Regions from separate parts of the Homo sapiens genome. Here region 1 is linked to region 2. The links are contacts of gene promoters, found by promoter capture Hi-C in blood cells and fetal thymus (Javierre and others, 2016). All regions are on one chromosome and are shown on one strand. Each heading gives the region's core, a stretch centred on a gene start or on the middle of the fragment in contact. The rest is flanking DNA. Distances are from core to core; before and after follow the strand shown.

Region 1 (6,868 bases), core at 2,594-5,093, 1.0 Mb after region 2:
CTCCTTCCGTGCCCATGAATGTTCTCAATGGCATCTAGAATGGTGAATCCTTTCCAGGTTTTCAATTTACTTTGCCCAGTTCCATCAGAGGAATCACTATCTATGGAAGATACAGCCTTATGAAATGTATTTCTCAAATAAGACTTAAAAGCCAAAATTACTCCTTTATCCATGGGCTGCAGAATAGATCTTGTGTTAGCAGGCAAAGCTCTTGGGTAACCAGGTGCATTATTAATGAGCAGTGAGATTTTGAAAGTAATCTTTTTTTCTGAGTCATAGGTCTCAACAGTGGACTTAAAATATTCACTAACCATGCTGTGAACAGATGTGCTGTCAGCCAGGCCTTGTTGTTCCATTGATAGAACACAGGCAAAGTCAATTTAGATATTTCTTAAGGGCCCTAGGATCTTTGGAATGGCAAATGAGCATTACCTCCAACTTAAAGTCAGTAGCTGGAGCCGGGCATAGTGGCTTACAGCACTTTGGGAGGCTGAGGGAGGTGGAGCATTTGAGCTCAGGAGTTTGAGACCAGCCTGGGCAACATGGTAAAACCCTGTCTCTACAAAAAATACAAAAATTAGCTGGGCATGGTGGTGTGTGCCTGTAGCCCCAGCTACTTGGGAGGCTAAGGTGGGAGGATTGCTTGAGGATCACTTGAGGCTGCAGTGAGCCGTGATCGCACCACTGCACTTCAGCCTGAGCAACACATTGAGACCCTGTGTCAAAAAATAAAAAATAAAAATAAAAAGTCAGCAGTTGCATTAGCCCCTAACAAGAGTCAGCCTGTCCTTTGAAGCCAGGCAGGGACTTCTCCTCTTTAGCTAGAAAAGTTCTATGTGGCATATTCTTCTAATAGAAGGCTTTCTTTTGGTCTACACTGAAAATCTGTTTAGTGTAGCCACCTTCATCAATCAGATCTTCTAGATAAATTGCTGCAGCTTCTACAGCGGCACTTGCTGCTTCACTTGGCACTTTCATGTGACGGAGATGGCTTCTTTCCTTAAACCTCATGAACCAAACTCTGCTAGCCTCAAACTTTTTAAATGAAGCTTCCTCATTTCTCTCAGCCTTCATAGAAATGAAGAATTAGGGCCTTGCTCTGGATAGGCTTTTGCTTAAAGGAATGCTGTGGCTGGTTTGATCTCTTATCCAGACCACTCAAACTTTCTACTTATCAGCAATAAGGCAGTTTCACTTTCTTTTCATGCCTGTGTTCAAGGGAGGAGGACTTTTAATTTCCTTCAAGAACTTTTTCTGTGCATTTATAACTTGGCTAACTGGAACAATAGGTCTAGCTTTCTGCCTATCTCAGCTTTCAAGATGCCTTCCTCACTAAGCTTAATCATTTCTAGCGTTTGATTTAAAGTGAGAGATATGTGACTCTTCCCTTCATTTGAACACTTAGAGGCCATTGTAGGGTTATTTATTGGCCTAATTTTAATATTGCTGTGTCTTAGGGAGTAGGGAGGCCCAAGGAGAGGGAGAGAGATGATCAGCCAGTCAGTGGAGCAGTCAACATATACATTGAATTGGCTGTCTTATAAGGGTGCAGTTTGCGGCACCCCCAAAATAATACAATAGTGACATCACAGATCACCGTAACATATTTAATGGAAAAGTCTGAAATATTTCAAAAATTACCGAAATGTGACAGAGACACCAAGTGAACACATGCTCTTAGAAAAAATGGTGCCACTAGACTTGCTCAATGCAGGGTTGAGCAACAAACCTTTATTAAAAAAAAATACAGTGCCTGTAAAGTGCAATAAATTGAAGTATAAAACGAGGTACGCATGTATTTTTCTTGCTTTTCTCTCGTGGTTGCAGAATATGCTGCCACAGCTCCAAACATGTCTGGCTTACTGGAGGATGTCCAAGGCAAGAAGGAAAAAACTTGTCCTTAGTCTGTCAGGATAAAATCCTTCCCCTGAAGCTCCTCATCCCCCACTCCCCATTATGGACTGAGCAGAATTAGGTCATATTTTTAGCCCCTTAACCAGTTATTGGTTAACAAAGAGGGACAGAGTACAAAGAGGTTTAGACCAGTGGTTTTCAAAGATCTGCTGAACCTTGGGGCGGCAAGTTTCCAAGACCCTTCCAGGGAGTCTGCAAAGTCAAAACTATTTTTGTTATAATACTAAGATATTATTTGCCTTTTTCCCTCTCATTATGAGTGCACAGTAGAGTTTTCCAGACGCTACCTGAAATAGCACAACAGATCGAATGCACAAACAGATATGAAAATCCAAATGCCTTCTATTAAGCAAGACATTAAAGATATGGGCAAAATTTTAAAGTAACACCATTCTTTTAACTAATTTTTTGAAAATAGTTATTTTTAATTAAAATGCGCTATTTGACATTTTTATTTTTATTCATTATTATTTTAAAAAATAGCAATTTTTAAATTTCTGTTTTAATATTAATAGCTGTAACCAACATAAAGAAAAGTTCTTGGGGCTCTCAATAATTTTACAAGTGGAAAGCGGTCTTGAGACCAAAAGATTGAGACCGCTGGTTTATTCAGGCAGATCTTATTCCTTTCCCGGGGTTGCTGAGGTCAGAGCTAAACTTCCCAGAGCTCAACTAAGCTTGGTTCAAACCTTTTAAAAATGTAACTGTTAATGGTAACGCCACCTGGGCTCAACAGCAGCTAGACGGGCCTCTGATTGCTTGGCCAAAGGAAAAGAGGAGGATTTCGTTGGGCCCTGAAGTTGTCACCGTGGCGTGCTTCTTCTGGCCCTGATCTTTCATCCAGGATTGGGGATACGTGCATGCAAACTGGGAGGTGGACATTCCTCCCGCTCTTGTTTTTCAGTGTTAGCATCTTCACTCATACTGTTTTGGTTTCAAAGTGCTCTCAGGAGTCTCCTTAAAACACCAAACCTGTTTTTCGCCTTTTGAATAAATCCCTTGGCTTCACCAAAACTAAACAAAACAAAAATCAAAGAACATCTTTGTGTAACCTATATGCCTGTGATTTCTCCATCTGATCTCCTTTCTCTGGCCTCTTTTCTTTTCTTCCCCAGTGAATTTTAGGCTGCCATGAAACCAGGGAGGAGACAGCCTGACCCTGGCCACGGGTGCAGCAGGCATACATTTTCATCGCACATACTTTGTCGAGTGGGTGTAAGACATTTTTGCATAAACTGAGTTCACGAATGCTATTTCTTAGTCTTTCCTTTGCCCGCGGTCTTCTGCCCAGATCCATTTCTTCGCCCTAATTTTACATATAACTTTCTCCCGGCTGGATTGTTTGCATCCACGACTCCCGACGCTTGAACCTCCCGTTCCTTGGACCTGACCTAATTCTAGGTGCCCGCAGTTTATTTCTCCACTTTGGCAAACGCACGTGGCTCTCCTGGAAGCTTCACTTTTGCTGCTAGGCTGGGTGTTGGGGTTCAGTGGGGCTCGGAAAACGTGCTCTAAAGTAGCCACGACCCCGGTCCCTGCAGAGTCCCGGCCCCCACAGAGCCCCGGCCCCGGACGCTGCAGGCGTCAGAAGGGGGCGGGGAGCAGAAAACGGCCGGGTGAATCACTGGGCGTAACAGGTGCCGCAGCCGCAGCTGCGCCCGCAGCGCGCGCGGACCGCAGGGATAAGGTCTTCTTTTTCTCCGGGTTTTTTTGGAGGTAAGGAGGAGACTACCGAGGCCCCCACCCGACCAATGCAGGCCACGGTTGTTCATCGCCTAGCAACTGGCGGAGCCAATGGGAGGCGGCGGGGCCTGCGGCGCCGGCGCGCGGGGGCGGGGTGGGAACCTCGGAAACCTGCGGAGGCCGGGAGGCGGCTGCAAGGGGCGGGGAAGGCGGGAGCCCGCAGCGGAGGAGGGGCCGCGGGCGGGAGGCGCTGCGAGGCGCTGCTGGCCCTCGGGCTGCGGGAGCCGGGCTAGGACGCCGAGCGGTGACTCCCCGCCGCTCCCGGGGGCCGTGACGGTGAGCAGCAGCGCCTCGCGTCGGGGATTGTGACGCGCCCCGCCAGGGAGGGGCGGGCGGGGGTGGGCGCCGGCAAGGGGCGGGCGCGCGCGGAGGTGAGAGCCGGCACCTGGCTCAGCGCCCCGTTGTTCGGCGGGAGGCTCCGCGCGGCTGTTGGGGCCGTTGCAGGGTGCGGGCGAGCGTCGACCCGGGCCGCTCCTGGAGGAGGAGGTGGGAGGTAGGTGCTGGCCCCGGGACCGCTCTCGCTGGCGTTCGCGGAGCTGCGCCTGCGGAGCGCTCTGACCCGGGGAGCCCCAAACCCTCTCTGGGATGGAGCAAGGTTGGCGCCCGGCGTTGGGGGACGAGCAGCGCGGGGACGTGGGGGAGGAGGGGATGGCCGATTTGGGGCTGCAGAGTCTCAGCAGCGGCCGTGGGGCATGCGGGGTTTGGCGATTTGCTAGTGCAGCCGCAAGAGGCAGTCTTTAAAACGAGTTATTGGGTGGCCGCTGCAGTGGAAGAGAACCCCGATAGTGGTCTAGTAAAAAGTCTAGGGGAAGAATTTACATCATCCAAGAGGCAGGCATGTGTGAAAATACTTTGGTTTATAATTTTATCATGAAAATACTTTGGTTTAGAATTTTATAGTCAACGACAGTAAACTGAATTGTGAGCTCCCTGCACATTTTTTGAGCCTATGCTGATTGCCCAGTTAGGCATATCGCTTGGGCCCAGGACATAGAATATACTAATTTGCTGTCTGCACGTATAATGTAGGAATTTTTAGATTATTACCCAGTTTCAGGACCCATAGTTGTAAATGCCAAACTGCGATTACTAGCAACGCTGATAAAGTTCTTGAATCTGAGAGAATTGAGATTTCTCTTTTCTGGACGCTGTAATAGGTTGAGGATTAGAAAAGAAGGTGATTTAGAAGTGTAAGGGTGGAGGCTTCTTGAACTTCCTGGGCTTTCTAACAATTCAGATTAGAGTCAAGGTGTAGAGTTAGCTGTGGGTGATGGATGTCATGGACCTTTTCATGGTTCATGGGGGTTTGGCTTACTGTGGGGTAGAAGAAAATTCTGGTGATCCTACAGTTTGATCCTGAACTAGAAAGGTTGGTATGAGTTGACTCATTTAGGAGAGTGAATAAAATTTGTAAAGAATTAGAAATTTGGAGAGGAAAGAAATGCCTTTAAAGTTCACGTCAAGCTATTTTGAAATTTAGAAGTTAGAGGTAGATTTATGAATTTGGATCCAGTCGGCAAAACTTGATCCATCAGATCTCTTATCCTAAAACTATCAACCTACAGGCTTAGGAAGCTTAGGTTATTCATTCACACTAAACAAGTAAGGAAAGCTAATAGCTAATTTAACACTCTGTTCTGCCTGCTGTTAATGAAGGTTTCTCAAACAAAACGGTTCTTTGAGAAGAGGGTTAGGAACTGATAATTAAAACGAAGGCTCTTTTAGTGACTGGCTGAACCTCTTAGGCCAAGTCATTTTGTACTCTTCCTTCCCTTCTCTTTCCCCAACTGTACAGGGAAGATAAAAAGCTCATGGATTACGTAACATGGGTGAGGCAGCTTGAAGATAACTGTGAAGACTTAGTTATTCTAGGATGAAATGTGGAGATCTCATAACACATTGTGCCTTGTGACAAGACTTGTTAAAGCACATTATGTTCTAAACATAATGAGGCAGATATATGAGAAAACTAAAATGTTACGCTGAAATTGTTTGCTAAAGACCTCAAGTCCAGCACAGTGTCCAATTGTATACTTGGGATCTCCTAGTACTTGACAGTCTGCTTTTTGGCCAAAGCAGGCCGTGACACCGGTTTTATAAAGTAGGCGTTTGAGTGCCTTTTATGTAGTATACCCCTAGAGAAATTAGGTGCATGAAAAGACACCGCCCCCAAATTGTGTGATTTTAATTCATTTAACATGCTTAAATTGGATCGATTTCAAAGATTTTTAAGTTATTTTTTCCATATCTTTTACAATAGCTGTGAATATGCCTTACTGGTTTCACCATTTGCTCATGACGCAAAGAGGTTTTGATACGATGTGGGTTTGTTTTGTGGCTTTGGTAATGGTGATATGGTTAGCTAGTAGTGAAGGTACAAGTTATCTTGAATTCACGAGTTTATGGGATGAGATAGAATAGAGAAATGCACCATTCATTAGTAGTAATGAAAAACATCCTAGAATTGTGCCTTTTGATTGTGGGCCAATGTTTTATGTAGTACCAGCAGATTTACTGAATTATTCTTTAGTAATTCTTTCAATAAACATTCATTAAACGCTTAGTAAGCTGCTACTTGCCTGACCTGAGGATAAAAAGATGAGTGTTGCCTTGAGGAATTTGTATTTTAGAAATTATCAGCATAGTGAGGCAGGAAGCAAAAAAACCTCACAAAAAACAAATATAGGAAGGCTTTCAAAAAGAAGGAGAATTTCAGCTGTGTCTGGTAGAGGCAGTGGAGTTCATCAAGCAGCTGGTGCATTCTGCAGCAGTGTACAGTTGAGTTACAGGTGGCTTGGTAGAGTTGGACCAGGGTGGGGTTGCCATATTAATAAGGCTGTAGAACAGTGCTGTGAACATTGACCAGTAGGTTACAGGGAACCTTCAGAAGGTTTTATGAAGGGGAATTATATTTTATTTTTACTTTAGAAGGATATTTCCACCAAAATCAGTAATTTGAGTGATCCAAAATGTATTGAGTATAGTGCAAATAATATCTGAAAGACAGTCCCACACAGCAGTTAGACTTGAAGTATATTTTGCTGAAGCCCTCAGAAACTCCAGAAAAGCAGAAATAATTATACAACAAACCTTTCTTAAGTATCTTCTACTTTGAAGACTGGAAGAATAGGGATACAAATTAAATAAGATACTTCCCCATTTTCAAGCAACCTGCAGTTCAGTAGGAGAAATAACACAGTTATAATGCAGT
Region 2 (7,937 bases), core at 5,438-7,937:
AATACTTTTATAATTTCCTATGCCTGTCTTTACTTTAATCTCTTAATCCCATCATCTCCATAAGCTGAGAATGTACGTCGCCTCAGGACCCTGTGATGATTGTGTTACCTGTACAAATTGTTTGTAAAACATGTGTGTTTGAACAATATGAAATCTGTGCGTCCTAAAAGAACAGGATAACAGCGATTTTCAGGGAACAAGGGAGCTAACCGTAAGGTCTGACTGCCTGCAGGGCCGGGCAGAACAGAGTCATATTTCTCTTCTTGCAAAAGCGAATAGGAGAAATATTGCTGAATTATTTTTCTCAGCAAGGAACAGCCCTGGGAAAAGAATGCATTCCCAGGGGGAGGCCTCTAAAATGGCTGCTCTGGGAGTGTCCGTCTTATGCAGTTGAAGATAAGGGATAAAATACGCCCTGGTCTCCTGCAGCGCCCTTAGGCTTGCTAGGATTAGGAAATTCTGGCCTGATGAATTCTAGTCAGAAGGGTTGTCTACTCTCAAACCCTGTTTCCTGTTAAGATGTTTATCAGTGACGATGCATGCACAGTGGGAAATGAAACCTCATCAGCAATTCTAATTTCGCTCTGGCCTTGTGATCTTGCTCTGCCCCCAATTGCCTTGTGATATTTTATTGCCTTTTGAAGCATGTGATCTCTGTGACCCACACCCTATTCGTACACTCCCTCCCCTTTGAAAATCGCCAATAAAAAGTTGCTGGTTTTGCAGCTTGGGGGCATCACAGAACCTGCTGACAGGTGATGTCACCCCTGGAGACCCAGCTATAAAATTTCTCTCTTTTGCACTCTTTCTCTTTATTTCTCAGACCTGCCAACACTTAGGGAAAATAGAAAAGAACCTACATTGAAATATTGGGGGCTGGTTCCCCCGATAGCAGTGTCATGGGAAGCCCAGAAGAAAGGATATTTGGGATATCCCTCAAATAATTTCACAAATTCTTTACCATACAGTATTGCTAAATAAAAAGTTCAATCTGGTAACTTCTTGTTTCTGAAAAGATAGCAAACTAACAAAGCTATTGTCTCCTGGAGTCTCCAAATCCATTCCTGAAGATGCCACATATATGGGGGGGAGGGGATAAATAATGAGCCTAACTAGGAAACTCTGAAAACCCTTAGGAGGTGAAAGGGAGTTGGGTCCATTGTGGTGGAGAAAGGAAAGCCTGGAGGGACAAAGAGGGACACTAATGGAGGTAGAGGGTGGATGAAAGGATAGAATCTCTGATTGTTCCCTTTTCTACCCTACATTAGCTTGGGTGGATCGTGGCCCACCTCAACTCAAGATGCTTATAAAAACACAAAGTTAGCCCAGCAAGTGTCCAAGGAGGCAGAAGAACACCAGGAAAGCTGATAACTGTGTATACCAGTTGGTTTAGAACAGTTGTCTTCTTCCCTCCACCCAAAAGTCTAGATGATTACCCAGAAGACAGCAGCTCTTGGAAATGGGATGGCAATGTGGGAGTACTGGAAGTTAACCTGAGAGGCGTATGCTCTTCATAGGAGGGCAGACTGGGGCTAGTGCAGCCCAGATTGTAACACCAGAGGCTTTCTACCATGATGCTCATCCACTCTTCTGCTTACCCTCCACACTGAAAAGAATAACCAGAAGAGTTGCAATCCAAATCCTATGCTTTTGATCCTACCTTTCAAATATGAATTACAACTATGCTTGCTAATACTCTCAAAGGAATAGGAGCTCACCAGAGAAAATATTATAAAATCTGGACTGTAATTCTAAAAGATTTTTTTAAGCTGGATAATTTATACTGGAGGGACAGAATTAATGGACAAAAAACTGAAGATTTTTAAAAGAGTCAAAAGTCGGGCATGGTGGCTCACGCCTGTAATCCCAGCACTTTGGGAGGCCAAGGTGGGTGGATCACCTGAGGTCAGGAGTTCAACACCAGCCTGGCTAATATGGCAAAACCCTGTCTCTACTAAAAATACAAAAATTATCTGGGTATGGTGGTGGGCACCTGTAATCCCAGCTACTGGGGAGGCTGAGGCAGGAGAATCACTTGAACCTGGGAGGCGGAGGTTGCAGTGAGCCAAGATAGCACCATTGCCCTCCAGACTGGACAACCAGAGCGAGACTCCATCTCAAAAAAATAAATAAATAAAACGAGTTAAAGGACTACCTTCAGAGAGATAAAAAGGGATATTAGAAATATGAAGCAAAATAAGCTACAGACAATGGTTATGAAAAACATAGTGACTGAAATGAGCTTAGTGGATAGGTTGACTAACAGATTGCATACCATCAAATACCAAAATAGTAAGGTAGAAATTACTTGGGGAACTCTCCCAGAAAGTATCTGGAAGCAATAAAGAGATGGGAAACATAAAAGTTAAAAGGTATGCAGAAAACTCTGATAACAAAACCTAACATTACAAGAAAAAAGAACTACAGATAAATAAACATCCTTCATAGACGAAAACTCCTAAACAAAATGTAAGTTAATTGAATACAATTATATAGAGATATTATAAAACATTTGAGTTTATTAAGGTTGCAGGATATGAAATCAAAATACAAAAATCAATTGTATTTCTGCAACCTAGCAATGAAAAATCCAAAATGAAATTAAATGAGTAATTTCATTCAAAATCACATCAAGGCCAGGTGTGGTGGCTCACGCCTGTAATTTCAGCACTTTGAGAAGCTGAGGTGGGCGGATCCCTTGAGCCCAGGAGTTTGAGACCATCCTGGGCAACATGGCAAAACCCCATCTCTACAAAAAATACCAAAAAAAATTTAGCTGGGCATGGTGGCATGCGCCTGTGGTCCCAGCTACTTGGGAGGTTGAGGTGGGAGAATAGCTTCAACTCAGGAGGTCGAGGCTGCAGTGAGCCATGATTTTGCCACTGTACTCCAGCCTGGGTGACAGAGGGAGACCCTGTGTCAATTTAAAAAAAAACAAAAACCACATCAAGAATAAAATGCTTAGGAATAAATTTAGCAAAAGATATGTAAAAACTTGTACACTGAAAACTACAAAGCATTGTTAAGTGAAGTTAAAGACAATATAAATAAATGGATGGCATTCCGTTTTCATGGATAAGACACAATGTTGTTAAGATGACAATCCTCCCCTCACTTATCTATATATTCCACACAATCCCTATGAAAATCCCACAAGTTCTTTTGTAGAAATTGACAAGCTGGCACTAAATACACAGAGATGCAAACAACCAAGAATAGCCAACACAATTTTCAAAAGAAAAGAAAGTTGGACTTACTATAAAGTTATAATAGAGTATGGTATTTGTGTAAGGATAGACATATAGATCAGTAAAACAGAATATAAGGTCCAGAAATAAATCTTTATCTTTGTGGTCAATTGATTTTTTTAAATATCAAGGCAATTCAAGGAAAAAGAATAGGCTTCAACAACTGGTGCTTGGACAATAAGATATCCATATTAAAAAAAAGAAACTTAAACCATTACCTTGTCCACCTTATGGATGATATCCTTAGTTCTGCCACATGTGGGTTCCACCAACCATGGATCAAATTTCCACAGCTGGTGGAACCTACAGATGTGGAACCATGGATGCAGATGGCAGATTGTAGGACTTGAGCGTTCTCAGATCTGTGGTGGTCCTGGAACCAATCCCCACAGAAACAGAGGGATGACTCTAGATACAAAAGCCAACTCAAAATGGATCACAGACCTAAATGTAAAAGCTAAAACTATAAAACTTCTAGAAAATATAGGAGAAATATCTCTTTGCAACCTTGGGCTAGGCAAAAAGTTATTAGTGTGACACAAAAAGCACCATTCATTTAAAAATTGAGAGGCTGGGTGCAGTGGCTCACTCCTGTAATCCCAGCACTTTGGGAGGTGGGTGGATTACCTGAGGTCAGGAGTTCGAGACCAGCCTGGCCAACATGGTGAAACTCCATCTCTAATAAAAATACAAAAATAATTAGTCAGGTGTGGTGGCACCTGCCTGTAGTCCCAGCTACTCGGGAGGCTGAGGCAGGAGAATCACTTGAACCCAGAAGGCGGAGGTTGCAGTGAGCAGAGATCCCGCCATTGCACTCCAGCCTGGGTGACAAGAGCGAGACTCCATCACAAAAAATAAAAATAAAAATTGATAAACTGGATTTAATTGAAGTGTAAAATTTTTGCTCTTTTAAAGATACAACTAAGAAAAGGAAAAGCCACAAACTGGGAGAAAATATTTGCGAACCATACAAGGAATTGGTATTAATTATGCATTGCTTTGTATCAATTATCCAGAAATTTGGCAGTTTAAAACAAGAAACATTTATCCCCTCCCACAATTTCTGAGTGTCCGGAATCTGGGTTCAGTTGTTGGCCAGAGCCGCAGTCATGTAAAGCTGGACTAAGACTAGAGAATCTTCCTCCAAACACATTCATATGCTATTGACAGGCTGAAATTCCTTGCTGATTGTTGGCCAGTGCATTCGTTTGCCAAGGCCACTATAATGAACTAGCATAGACTGAGTGACTTAAATTTATTTTCTCACAGTTCTAGACGCTAGAACTCCAAAATAAGTTGTCACCAGTCTTGTTTTTTTCTGAGGCCTCTCTCGCTGGCATGCAGGTGGCCACCTCACTGTATCATCGTATAGTCTTTTCTCTCTGCAGGCATCCCTCGTGTCTCTTTTTGTGTCCAAATTTCCTCTTCTTATAAAGATATCAGTCAGATTGGATTAGGGCCGACCTTAATGGTCTCATTTTAACGAAATCACCTTTAAAGGTCCTATCTCCAAATATACTCACAGTCTAAGGTACTGGGTGTTACGGATTTAACACACGAATTTGAGGGGACACAATTCAGCCTGTAAGAGCCAGTAACTTCGGCCCACTACCACATGGGCCTCTTGGTACTCACAACCTGGCAGCTTGCTTCCCCCAGAGTGAATGATCTAGGAAGGAGACCAAAAAAGCAAGAGCCTAAGGCAGAAACCACAGCCTTTCTCCAAACCTAATCTTAGAGGTAACGTATTACTTCTGCTGTATGCTATCAGTGACACAGACCAATCCTGGGATGATGCAGGAGCAGTCTACACATTGGTCTGAACACTGTGGGGGTGGAGAATCACTGGGGAACATACTGGTGCTTGTCTACCACAAACCTATATCCATAATATATGAAGAACTACTACAATTTGATAATAAAAGACGTCAATTAAAAATGGGCAAAAGATCTGAATAAACATTTCATTAAAGAAAATATCCAAATGGCCAGTTGGCAGATGAAAAGATGTTCAACATCATTAGTCATTAAAGAAATGTAAATTCTCAATGACGTACCCCTACACATCTATAATCAAATAACTGATAATACTAAGAATTGGCCGGGATGTAGAGAAATAGGAACCCTCAGCCAGTAGGAATGTAAAATGGTATAGCTACTTTGGAAAACAGTTTGGGCATTTCTTTAAAAATTAACATAAATTTATATGGCCCAGCAATTCCACTCCTAGTTATTTACTTAACGGGAAATGTAAACATGTCCACACAAAGACTTGCATATGAATGTGGAAGCAGAATTATTCGTAATAGCCCAAACTGGAAACAAGCCAAATGCCCACCAACTGGTACATGCATGAAAAAACGTGCCACATTCATACAATGCAATGTTATTCAGCAATACCGGGCATTAGGCACTTTCGCCTAATATATTTATGATGTTCTCTGAGAGAATCCTGCAGAATGCTGGGAATGGGGAATAGCCTGACGCAGGCTGTTACTTAGAAAGAATGGAAAGAAAAATTAATGCCCTCTTTCCTACTTGAAACCCATCATGATTCCCAGTTATACACTGAGTTTGTGTCTGTCACTGACAGTTGATTCCTATGCATGATCTCATATTATCTTCGCAATGACACTGGGAGATTTATATTAATAATACCATGCTCCCTAGTTTATAGCTTCAAGAAACTAAAGCTTGCAAAGGTGTAACATCAGGTGTGTCCTTTTTCATACAAGATTGGATTTAATGGTTAACACAGATAAGGGTGGGTTTTCCCATTTCCAGAGTGTAAGGGTTTCGCTTCTCTCCCTCTGCCGGTCTCCTCCACTGTTTACACCCAGTAGGGCGTGGAGGGTGGCCTAGGGTGTGGCCCAGGAGGCTTCCCTAAGGGAAGGGGGTGGTGGAAACCAGGCGGTTTGAAGCCCATCAGGATTCCCAGTTATATATCGAGTTTGTGTCCGTCACTGCTAGTTGATTTCCATGCATGATCTCATATAATCTTTGCAATGACACTGGGAGATTTATATTAATAATACCATGGTCCCTAGTTTATAGCTTTAAGAAACTAAAGCTTGGAAAGGCCTAATAACATCAGGTGTGTCCTCCATTTTCATGCAAGATTGGATTTAATGGTTAACACAGATTAGGGTGGGTTTTCCCACTTCCAGAGTGTAAGGGTTTCGCTTCTCTCCCTCTGCCGGTCTCCTACACTCTTTACACCCAGCAGGGCGTGGAGGGTGGCCCAGGGAGTGGCCCAGGAGGCTTCTCTAAGGGAAGAGGGTGGTGGAAACCAGGAAGGAGACGAGAACCCCAGCGGGCAAGTCACGCAGTTACGCTTGTTCGCCCAGAGAATCCGGCAGGGCCTCCGCAGAGCCGTAAAGAGCTCTACAAGTCGTGAAGGGGCGAGGCGCAAAAGCGTAGCTTTACGGCGATTCGAGCAGTCGCGTCAAGCAGGCTATTCCGGGTTTGTGGCTGCTTGGCTCCACACGTGGGCCGCCGTAGGTATTCCGACCGGTAATTCCTCCTATTGGTGTGCAGCAGCCACATTGAAGGATAGAGTGGCAGCAGAGGCCAAGGATCGTGAGTTGATGGAGTTTGCTGCTGAAAATGAAGGGAAGTCTGGGGGAGGTCTCCACAGCGTAGCTGAGGGGGTGCGGCTAAGTCCAGAGCCTGGCAGGGAGGGAGTAAGGGACTTAGCAGGGGCGGAGGAGTTCGGCGGCGGAGAGGAGGGGACAGGGCTGACAGGGATAAAGGAGATAGGGGATGGAGAGGAAGGAAGTGGACAAAGGCCAGAGGAAATACCGATGGACCTAACGGTAGTGAAGCAGGAAATTATAGACTGGCCAGGTACAGAAGGCAGGTTGGCTGGCCAGTGGGTAGAACAGGAGGTGGAGGATAGGCCTGAGGTGAAGGATGAGAACGCAGGCGTATTGGAGGTGAAGCAGGAGACGGATAGTAGTTTAGTGGTAAAAGAAGCGAAGGTGGGTGAACCAGAGGTAAAGGAAGAGAAGGTAAAGGAAGAGGTAATGGACTGGTCAGAAGTGAAGGAAGAGAAGGATAACTTGGAGATAAAACAGGAGGAGAAGTTTGTTGGTCAATGCATAAAAGAGGAATTGATGCATGGAGAGTGTGTAAAAGAAGAGAAGGATTTCCTGAAGAAAGAAATCGTGGATGATACAAAGGTGAAAGAAGAGCCTCCGATAAATCACCCGGTGGGCTGCAAGCGGAAACTGGCCATGTCAAGGTAGGGCATGGGGGATTCCATTTAGGGGAATAAAGCTGTGGAGTCCTCATGTCTAGAGTGAAGGAAACCACACTATCAGGAGAAGGTGGAATAATGAAAAATGAGCACAAGTTTGGGTTTCTGGAGTCAGACGGCGTTCGCGGGGGTGGGTTGGGAAGTGGAGGGTGTTGTACATGACAACACAACAAATTCAGTGAAAATACATGAAATTAGTAGTGTCCAATGGGTAATGGTCAAGTTAGGAAAGTGGAAATTCTGGGGACCAAAAGATCAGTTGGAACTGGATCTGGCTTGACTTAATATGCTCTTTACTCGGTATTCCTTTGAGAGAGAATAGAGATGAGAAAGTCTAATAAAACTAACAATGACAAAGTAGATTAAGTTAAAACTAGGCAAAAATACACTTGACCTCAATTATCAAGCTTCTTCATGGGTGCTGTGAATAT

Evidence for each region. The method cuts DNA at HindIII sites, captures the fragments that hold promoters and counts their contacts. A CHiCAGO score of 5 or more calls a contact.
Region 1: a contact is called between the fragment with the promoter of SSX2IP here and the fragment with the promoter of ZNHIT6 in region 2, in 2 of 17 cell types (naive CD4 T cells and non-activated CD4 T cells). The highest score is 7.5, in naive CD4 T cells.

The regions. Positions count from the first base shown.
Region 1 is chr1:84,687,436-84,694,303 of GRCh38, reverse strand. SSX2IP (SSX family member 2 interacting protein) reads left to right here and starts at 3,843. Exons shown (of 14, transcript NM_001166293.2): 1 at 3,843-3,933. RefSeq lists a silencer at 3,632-4,391. The HindIII fragment of the contact is 1,864 bases long and covers 3,371-5,234 here.
Region 2 is chr1:85,707,183-85,715,119 of GRCh38, reverse strand. ZNHIT6 (zinc finger HIT-type containing 6) reads left to right here and starts at 6,687. Exons shown (of 10, transcript NM_017953.4): 1 at 6,687-7,491. The coding sequence starts at 6,836. RefSeq lists enhancers at 5,764-6,596, 6,535-6,894, 6,597-7,430. The HindIII fragment of the contact is 1,595 bases long and covers 6,321-7,915 here.